Linked DNA regions of Homo sapiens: region 2 is linked to region 1. The links are contacts of gene promoters, found by promoter capture Hi-C in blood cells and fetal thymus (Javierre and others, 2016). All regions are on one chromosome and are shown on one strand. The core of a region is centred on a gene start or on the middle of the fragment in contact, and the rest is flanking DNA. Distances in the headings are between cores, read along the strand shown. Region 1 holds the start of NUP50 (nucleoporin 50). Region 2 has its middle 22 kb from the start of RIBC2.

Evidence for each region. Contacts are between HindIII fragments. The CHiCAGO score rates a contact against its expected background, and 5 or more counts as called.
Region 2: a contact is called between a fragment that was not itself captured here and the fragment with the promoter of NUP50 in region 1, in 7 of 17 cell types (neutrophils, naive B cells, naive CD4 T cells and 4 more). The highest score is 14.3, in neutrophils.

The regions. Positions count from the first base shown.
Region 1 is chr22:45,161,795-45,166,027 of GRCh38, reverse strand. It overlaps NUP50 (nucleoporin 50), which reads right to left and starts at 2,103. Exons shown (of 8, transcript NM_007172.4): 1 at 1,732-2,103. It overlaps NUP50-DT (NUP50 divergent transcript), which reads left to right and starts at 2,247. Exons shown (of 3, transcript NR_038956.1): 1 at 2,247-2,451. RefSeq lists silencers at 1,332-1,511, 1,542-1,771, 2,542-2,591 and an enhancer at 1,652-2,174. The HindIII fragment of the contact is 17,324 bases long and covers 1-4,233 here.
Region 2 is chr22:45,433,342-45,437,305 of GRCh38, reverse strand. No RefSeq gene overlaps it. Among named protein-coding and RNA genes, the nearest start is that of RIBC2, 22 kb to the right of the region's middle. The HindIII fragment of the contact is 4,374 bases long and covers 1-3,710 here.

The DNA.
Region 1 (4,233 bases), core at 854-3,353:
GTGTCCTGTCTGTCATTAGATCAGTGAGCTGGGGAAGTATTTCCCCAGTGAGCATAAAGTATTTCAAAAAATACTAAAAGATGCTGGCATCCCAGTTTTGCCATTTTCTAGCTGTGAGAACTTGGGCAAGTTATATTTAATTTTTGTGCCTCAGTTTCTTCATCTGTGGAACAGGAAGTATTAAGAAAGTTAAGATAAACAAAGACTGGCTTAGAACAGTGCCTGGAGCAGAGGAAGGGCTTAATAAATTATTAAAGAAACAAGTTTTATTAGAAGCAAAGGCTATAAACTATCATTTTCCCTCCAAAACGTAAAAGTTGTAGCATGGAAGAAGAATAACTTGGATTACAAACCAGATTTTTACAAATATTTTACCAAATCCCTATTTTATTTCAAAGCATGACACTTCAGACAATACATTTTACTTTTATGCTAGAAGTGGGGGGGAGAAAAAACCCTCTGTAAAATATTCAGAACAAGGCCTGGCACCTGGAGTCTTATGTCTAGCTACTGTTATGAAGAACTTAAGGGAGGCGGAAGGATCTCTTGAAGCCAGGAGTTGGAAACCAACTTGGTCTCTACGAAAATAAAGATGGACATAGATTAGATGAATAGAAATAAAAAATTAGCCGAGCGTAGTGGCGCACGCCTGTGGTCCCAGCTACTTGGAAAGCTGAGGCAGGAGAATCACTTGAGCCCAGGAGCTTCAGGCTACACAGTGAGCTACCACTACACTGAGGCCTGGTGACAAAGCAAGACCCAGTCTCAATCAAACAATCAATAAAAGGGAATTTAAAAAACGTTTGCGTTTGTGGGTAAAAAACCAAATTAGACATGATTTCTAGGTATGAAGCAACGTGGTGGGAGACTGAAAGTCTAGGTAAACTGGAAAAAAACATTATTTGTGCCTGATATAGTTATGTGGTCTCTGGCATCTGGTGTAGCTCTGCCCTTGGAAAGCTCAACTTGTCAACATCACCTTAAAACGAAAACACAGATTTGGCTACACTTAATAGTGAAGTGCCTTGTTGGAGGAAAACAACAAGGGGGCCAAGTAAGGAGACAGAAATACCTAATCTCCAAGCTGGTTCTTAATGGAACCGAGCAAATGGGTGATGAATAACCCGGGAACGCAGTAAGACAGGCCAGAGAGGTAATGCGCCCAAGAGAAGAGAGACGAGGGGCGGCCAGGGGGAGAGGAAGCTCGAGAGGAATCGCTAGGAAGGAAACGGAGAAGACCACGCCAGGACAGCCCTGCCAGCCCCCTACCTCCGGCGGGGCCGCAGGGGAGAGTCTCACTCGAGTCGGACGCCGCAGCCCGGTGGGGCCCGGGCCCCGCTTCAAAAACAGCCGGGGCTGCGTCGCCGCTGTCATCCCACCCCACCCTCCACCCGTCGCTCCCCCACCGCGCGCCCCGCCCGGCCCGTGCGCCCGACCCAGGCTCCCTCCCTAGAGTCCCGACCTCTAGCCCTGTACCCCACTTCCCAGGGTCCCGTCCTCCAGCCCCTTAAGCCCCTCCCCAGGGTCTGGTCCCCCGGCCCCGCACCCCTCCCCAGGGGCCCGTCCCCCGGCGCTGAACCCGCACCTCCCTCCCCAGGGTCCAGTCCCCAGCCCTGCACTCGCACTCCCCTCCCAGGCCCGAGCCCGCTCCCGCCCTCCCGGCCCTGGGCTCTCAGCACCAGGCTCCCGCCCTCAGCCTCTTCTCCTCCCGCGCCCGCCGCCGCTCCTCACCTCCTCGGCGGCCGCCGCTGCACTCGCTGGGTCTTGGTTGCGGCGAAACCCGGGGCGCAGCGGCGCAGGGGTCTGGAGCCCGCAGGGGTCGCCGGGCTGAGCGCGCTCGGCCGCTTCCGGTGCTGCGCTGCGGAACTCAGAGGACTTAGTGCTCGGCAAGCCCAGAGACTCAAACACCATATCCCTGGGGGGGCTCCTCACGCTGTGTTCGGCAGGGAGGCGAGAGCGCCGGTTCAGCCAGAGACAGCTGGGGGAACCGCGCCGAACACGCTCCGGGCGGCCATTTTGTAACTCGAATCTACCCCCAAAACCAATTCGAAAAAAAGGGAGGAAAGAAACGCCCGCGTTCAGCTACTGCGCAAGCGCGCCGGCGCTTCCGGCAGTAGCACCTCCTTCCGCCGGCCGGGCCCCTTACGCGGCGCATGCGCCCAGCTCCCTGGAAACCGGCGCGGGGCTGAGAATGCCGGTCTCGCGCAAGCGCGCACGCGCCGACCTTGATCTCGTAGCCGGCGCCAGCAGCCGCGCTTTGGGGCGTCGGCTCACGTGGGGCCGGCAACGCGTCTTCCAGGATGTTCGCGCGCTAGTCGCCGCTGAGGGGCCGGCGATGCGCGAGGAGTTCCGGCGAGGAAGGTCGGTCAGTGGACATGGCCGAGGCCCGCGGTGTCCGCGTGTGGGAGCTGCAGGGCTGAGGAGAGGCCGCCCGCAACCCTCGGGAATCGTGTGAGGTGCCACTGGGGTCGCTTCACATCAGGAGGCCCCGTCTCGGGGGACGCGCGCAGGTGACCCTGCTGGTCGTACCTGGCCGGGGTGGCCCGGAGGGGCTGGGTCTCGGCGCCAGGAGGGGCCGTGTGGGCCGCCTGTTAAAGGACCCCTCGTTCGCTGACATTTGATTTTGCATTGGGTGCCTTCTCTTCTGTTTTTTTCAGCCAGTGAGATCCGTCCTGGGCACTCAGCTGTAGAGCAGGGGAACGAGTCCTGCGCTTTTTGCGCTGAGGTCTCCTGGCCCGTAGGCCAGGCAGCCTCTGAGCTCCTTTCTCACCAGCAGCTTGCGATCCCTCATCCCTGGCCCTGTCACTCCCAGCTGTTTCCAGTGCCGCCCTTTTTTTTTTTTTTTTTTTGAGATGGAGAGTTTAACTTGTTCGCCCAGGCTGGAGTGAAGTGGCACGATCTTGGCCTACTGCAACCTCTGCCTCCCGGATTCAAGCGATTCTCCTGCCTCAGCCTCCCGAGTAGTTGGGATTACAGTCGTGCGCCACCACGCCCGGCTAATGTTTATATTTTTAGTAGAGACGGGTTTTCACCATATTGGTCAGGCTGGTCTCGAACTCGTGACCTCAGGTGATTCCCTCCCCCCGCCCCACCACCTCAGCCTCCCAAAGTGCTGGGATTACAGGCCTGAGCCACCGTTCCCGGCCTCGAGCGCCTTCTTATAAACTGGATGGTGGTTTTTGTTTTCACCTTCAAAGTCGAATCTCCCTAGTCCGTTTATTACCAGAAAGAGGTCTCCACTCAGACCCAGCGAGAGGCTTCTTGGATGTCGCGTAGGAAAGAATTCGGGGCGAGTCCACGGACTAAAGTGAAAGCAAGTGTATTAGAGAAGTGAGAAAGCAAAAGAATGGCAGAGCAGGGCATTCCTGAAAGCGGGAGGAGGAAGGCGCCCGCCTTAGGTACAGTGCTTGTTCAAATCTAAGGTAACACAGCCAAAGAAATCTTGGGGGACATGGGCTCTACCACGAGGGCCCACGACCAAGGTTTCATGCGCGTCCGTGTGAAGAGACCACCAAACAGGATTTGTGTGAGCAACATGGCTGTTTATTTCACCTGGGTGCAGGCGGGCTGAGTCCAAAAAGACAGTCAGCGAAGGGAGATAGGGGTGGGGCCGTTTTATAGGATTTGGGAAGGTAATGGAAAATTACAGTCAAAGGGGGTTGTTCTCTGGTGGGCAGGGGTGGGGGGTCACAAGGTGCTCAGTGGGGGAGCTTCTGAGCCAGGAGAAGGAAATTCACAGGGTTAATCACTTAGTTAAGGTTGGGCAGGAACAAATCACGATGGTGGAATGTCATCAGTTAAGGTGGGGCAGGGCCTTTTCACTTCTTTTGTGATTCTTCAGTTACTTCAGGCCATCTGGGCGTATACGTACAAGTCACAGGGGATGCGATGGCTTGGCTTGGGCTCAGAGGCCTGACACAAGGATTGTTCATCTTTGTTTACTGACTTTGGCAAAGATCTATATTATCTTTAAAGCGAAACCTAAATGAAGAATGCTTTTGATCTTAAGATATTGTTAGGTTTTGAAGGGAAGACGAGAGTTAAAGAATGACACACAGGTCGGGCGCTGTGGCTCACGCCTGTAATCCCAGCACTTTGGGAGGCCGAGGCGGGTGCATCACCTGAGGTCAGGAGTGGGAGACCAGCCCGACCAACATGGTGAAACCTCATCTCTACTAAAAATACAAAAATTAGCGGGGCGTGGTGGCACATGCCTGTAATCTCAGCTACTTG
Region 2 (3,964 bases), core at 274-2,773, 270 kb before region 1:
ACCCACATCCTGCTGATTGGTAGAGCCCAGTGGCCTGTTTTGACAGGGCGCTGATTGGTGCGTTTACAATCCCTGAGCTAGATACAAAGGTTCTCCACGTCCCCATCAGACTCAGGAGCCCAGCTGGCTTCATCCAGTGGATTCCGCACCGGGGCTGCAGGTGGAGCTGCCTGCTAGTCCCGCGCCGTGCGCTCGCACTCCTCAGCCCTTGGGCGGTCGATGGGACTGGGCGCCGTGGAGCACGGGGCGGCGCTCGTCGGGGAGGCTTGGGCCGCACAGGAGCTCATGGAGGGGGTGGGAGGCTCAGGCATGGCGGGCTGCAGGTCCCGAGCCCTGCCCCGCGGGAAGGCAGCTAAGGCCCGCTGAGAAATGGAGCGCAGCGCCAGTGGGCCGGCACTGCTGGGGGACCCAGTACACCCTCCGCAGCCACTGGCCCGGGTGCTAAGCTCCTCACTGCGCGGGGCCGGCAGGGCTGGCCGGCTGCTCCGAGTGCGCGGCCCGCCAAGCCCACGCCCACCCGGAACTCCAGCTGGCCCGCAAGGGCCGCGCGCAGCCCGGGTTCCCGCTCGCGCCTCTCCCTCCACACCTCCCTGCAAGCTGAGGGAGCCGGCTCTGGCCTTGGCCAGCCCAGAAAGGGGCTCCCACAGTGCAGCGGTGGGCTGAAGGGCTCCTCAAGTGTCACCAAAGTGGGAGCCCAGGCAGAGGAGGTGCCGAGAGCAAGCGAGGGCTCTGAGGACTGCCAGCACGCTGTCACCTCTCACTAGGACACAAATATAGCAAAATATTAATTGTAGAATCTAGGTGGTGGATGTATGTGTACATTCTGTACAATTCCTTCAGTTTTTCTTTATGCTTGAAATAAAATGTAGCAGGGAGGGCTGGGTGCAGAGGCTCAGGCCCGTAATCGCAGCACTTTGGGAGGCCAAGGTGGACGGATCACTTGAGGTCAGGAGTCCGAGACCAGCCTGGCCAACATGGAGAAACCCTGTGTCTACTAAAAATACAAAAATTAGCCAGGCGTGGTAGTGCACTCCTGTAATCCCAGCTACTCGGGAGGCTGAGGCAGGAGACTCGCTTGAACCCAGGAGGCAGAGGTTGCAGTAAGTCAAGATTGTGCCACGCCAGCTTGGGCGACAAAGTGAGACCCCCCTCTCAAAAAAAAAATTAGGGGGGAAATGTAACAAAAACCCTTTGGATTTATGAAATCACAATGGGCCTTTCAGGGGAGAGTAACCCCCCATGTCTGGCCTCGGCTCTGCCTTCCACCCAGGGGCAACACACGGAACGTCTTTCATCCTGTGGACGGGAATCACAACATCCAGCAGTGTCGGGGCTGTTGCAAGAAACTGCCCAGCACAGGACCTGGGCCTTCGCAGTTTAATCACCTCGTTCCTCTTCCTGCCTGGAGAACGGCAGGGACTGTGTTGTGCTGCTGGTCACCAGCAGAGGGCGCACAGAAAGCAAGTCTGCGTCCAAAGTTCTCACGCCTGCCCTTCCTTCCTTCAGGAGTATTTTTTACAAAGTTGCAGCCTTCAGAGTTAAAGCAAGCCTCTCCACGTTGGGGCGTGATTCCAGGCATATAAACGAAGTGGTGATGGCTGCGGCGGCCTCCTAGCGCTGTCTCCCTTTTCTCCTCTGCCTTCTTCCCAAGGATTTCCCTCCCTGTCCCTGTCTCCCATTAGACGTGGCGATCCTGGCCCAGGGCCTAGCCTGATCCAGGACAGGAAGAGTGCTCAGTGCTCATTGAATGAACCGACATTATTTCCCATTTCTCCCTTTATCTCCCCACTTGAAAGCAGGAGGGTGAATGACAGTATTGGCTGTCACTCGCCCATCACTGGGGCCCTCCCAGAGCCTGGCTTGTTCAGCCTGGACACAAATGTTCCTAATGGAGTTATCCTGGGAGGCAACGGAACCAGGTGCTCTCCTGCCTTTCCCCTTGTTGTGGGTTGAATTGGGTCCTCCCACAAAAGATATGTTGGAGTCCCAATCCCAGGTACCTCAGAATAGAACCTTATTTGGAAATAGGTTAATTGTAAATGAAATTAGTTAATATGAGGTCATTAGGTTAGGCTCTAACCCGGCGTGGCTGGTGTCCTTATGAAAAGGGGAAATTTGGACACATACACGCACACAGGGAAGACCACAGGAAGAGGAAGGCACAGATCAGAGTGATGCATGTACAAGCCAAGGAACACCAGAGATCACCAGCAAACTACCAGGAGCTGGGGCAGAGGCCCGGAACAGATCCTTCTTCGCAGCCTCAGAGGGAAGCAACACAGCCTACACCTCAATTTGGACTTCTGGCCTCCAGCACCTCGAGGAACTCTAAGTTTCTCCTGGTTAAGCCACTCAGTCTGCAGGCATTTGTTAATGGCAGCCTGGGAAATGAGTACACCCCGAACCCCTTTCCCTACAGGGAGTGTCCGTGTTACCGTTAGTCACTGTGAAAATACGCAGCTCCAGTTCAGGAAACAAGGGGTGAGCAGCTGGCTGAGAGTTTTGAAGCCCTGGGATCCGCATGGTGGCCCTGCCTGGTGCAGTGAGAACAGTGAGGTCCTTCATTTTGTGGATGCAAAACGAGGCTAAGCAGCTGCTTTCCAGCGGTGCGATGGGGGCAGTTTAAAGAGACCACCTGCCCAAGAGGCCCAGTGGGAGCCTGGTACACAGGGCGTGCTAACAAACCGACTCTCGCCCTCCCCTCTCTGGCTTTACATCACAATCCACACTCTAGTTACAGGTCCTGAGGCAGTCCCCTGGGTCCCACCCGTGGTCCCACACCAGCCTGGGGGTGGCAGCATTACTTGATCGACTGTGAATTTGAACAACGTCTTCAGTGTGGTCATTTGTTCAAATGCTTTGCCTGGGAGCCCGTGTGGGCCTGGATCCAGAGGGAGGCATAAAGTCTGTCTGCAAAGCCTTGCCTCCCTTTTGGCAGCCCCTGGGTGGCCTGAGCCTGCTGGGCTGCTAGAGCACACCCAGCCCTCTCTGCCTGGCCGACAACTCTCTCCAAGCTCCCCTTTTGCCTTCAGGATAAAGTCTGCAGCCTTCCTCGTCGGCCCGCCTGCTCCTCACACCTTGGCCACACACCTCTTCCTTCCACCCCCACCCCACACCAGACCCCAGGCCCTCTACACACCCACCTCAGCGGATACTGCCCTGCCACTTCTCTCCTGGACACCGCAGTGCCTTTGTTTATGCCTGCTAGCAAGTCCAGCCCCACTCTGTCCACCTAAAAACCCTACCGATCCTGAGGCTCAGGTGAAACGTCAGCCAGTGAAGGGTCTGAGCATGGGAAGAACCAGAGGGGCATTTAGACGGAGGGTAAAGTGAGCTAAGCTGTCTGCACTGGAGTATCCAGCTCTATCTCAGCTAAGGATAACATGCCAAGAGCTGCCATCTGTCAATGGCCCTGGGTATATGGCCCCACAAGAAACCCATGTGGAGGAGGAAGAGGTTAACTGGGGTGGGGGAACCCAGTGATTTCTAGGCTTTGGGGCCAGAAATCCTGTCCTTGACCTCAAGGACAGGGCTGGACTTAGTCCCCACTCTCAGTGGAAAATGCCTCCCCACACCTCCTGCCTGGCAATTTCCAAGTCACTCTTCAAGTGTGGCCTGCAGCAGATAGCTAGTTGTCCCCTAATATGTATTACTTCATTTGTATACAGTTGTAGAATGATGGTCTGGTCACACGGTCAGCCAGCTAAGCTTCCCAGCCTCCATTCACGTAGGTGTGGTCACATGACTGAATTCTGCTCCATGCGATACAAGCGGAGGTGAAATGCACTTTCCATGCCATGTCTCCATGTTGTCATGGAGAAGTAGCATGCCGACCCCCTTCTTTTTTGCCTTTCCTCCTCGCTGCTGGCCAGAGCGTGGCAGGATGGTGGAGGCCGGAGCAGCATCCTGGACCACAAGACAGGAGCTGCGTGTGGCAGCGGAGAGGACAGAGCCACAAGCTGGA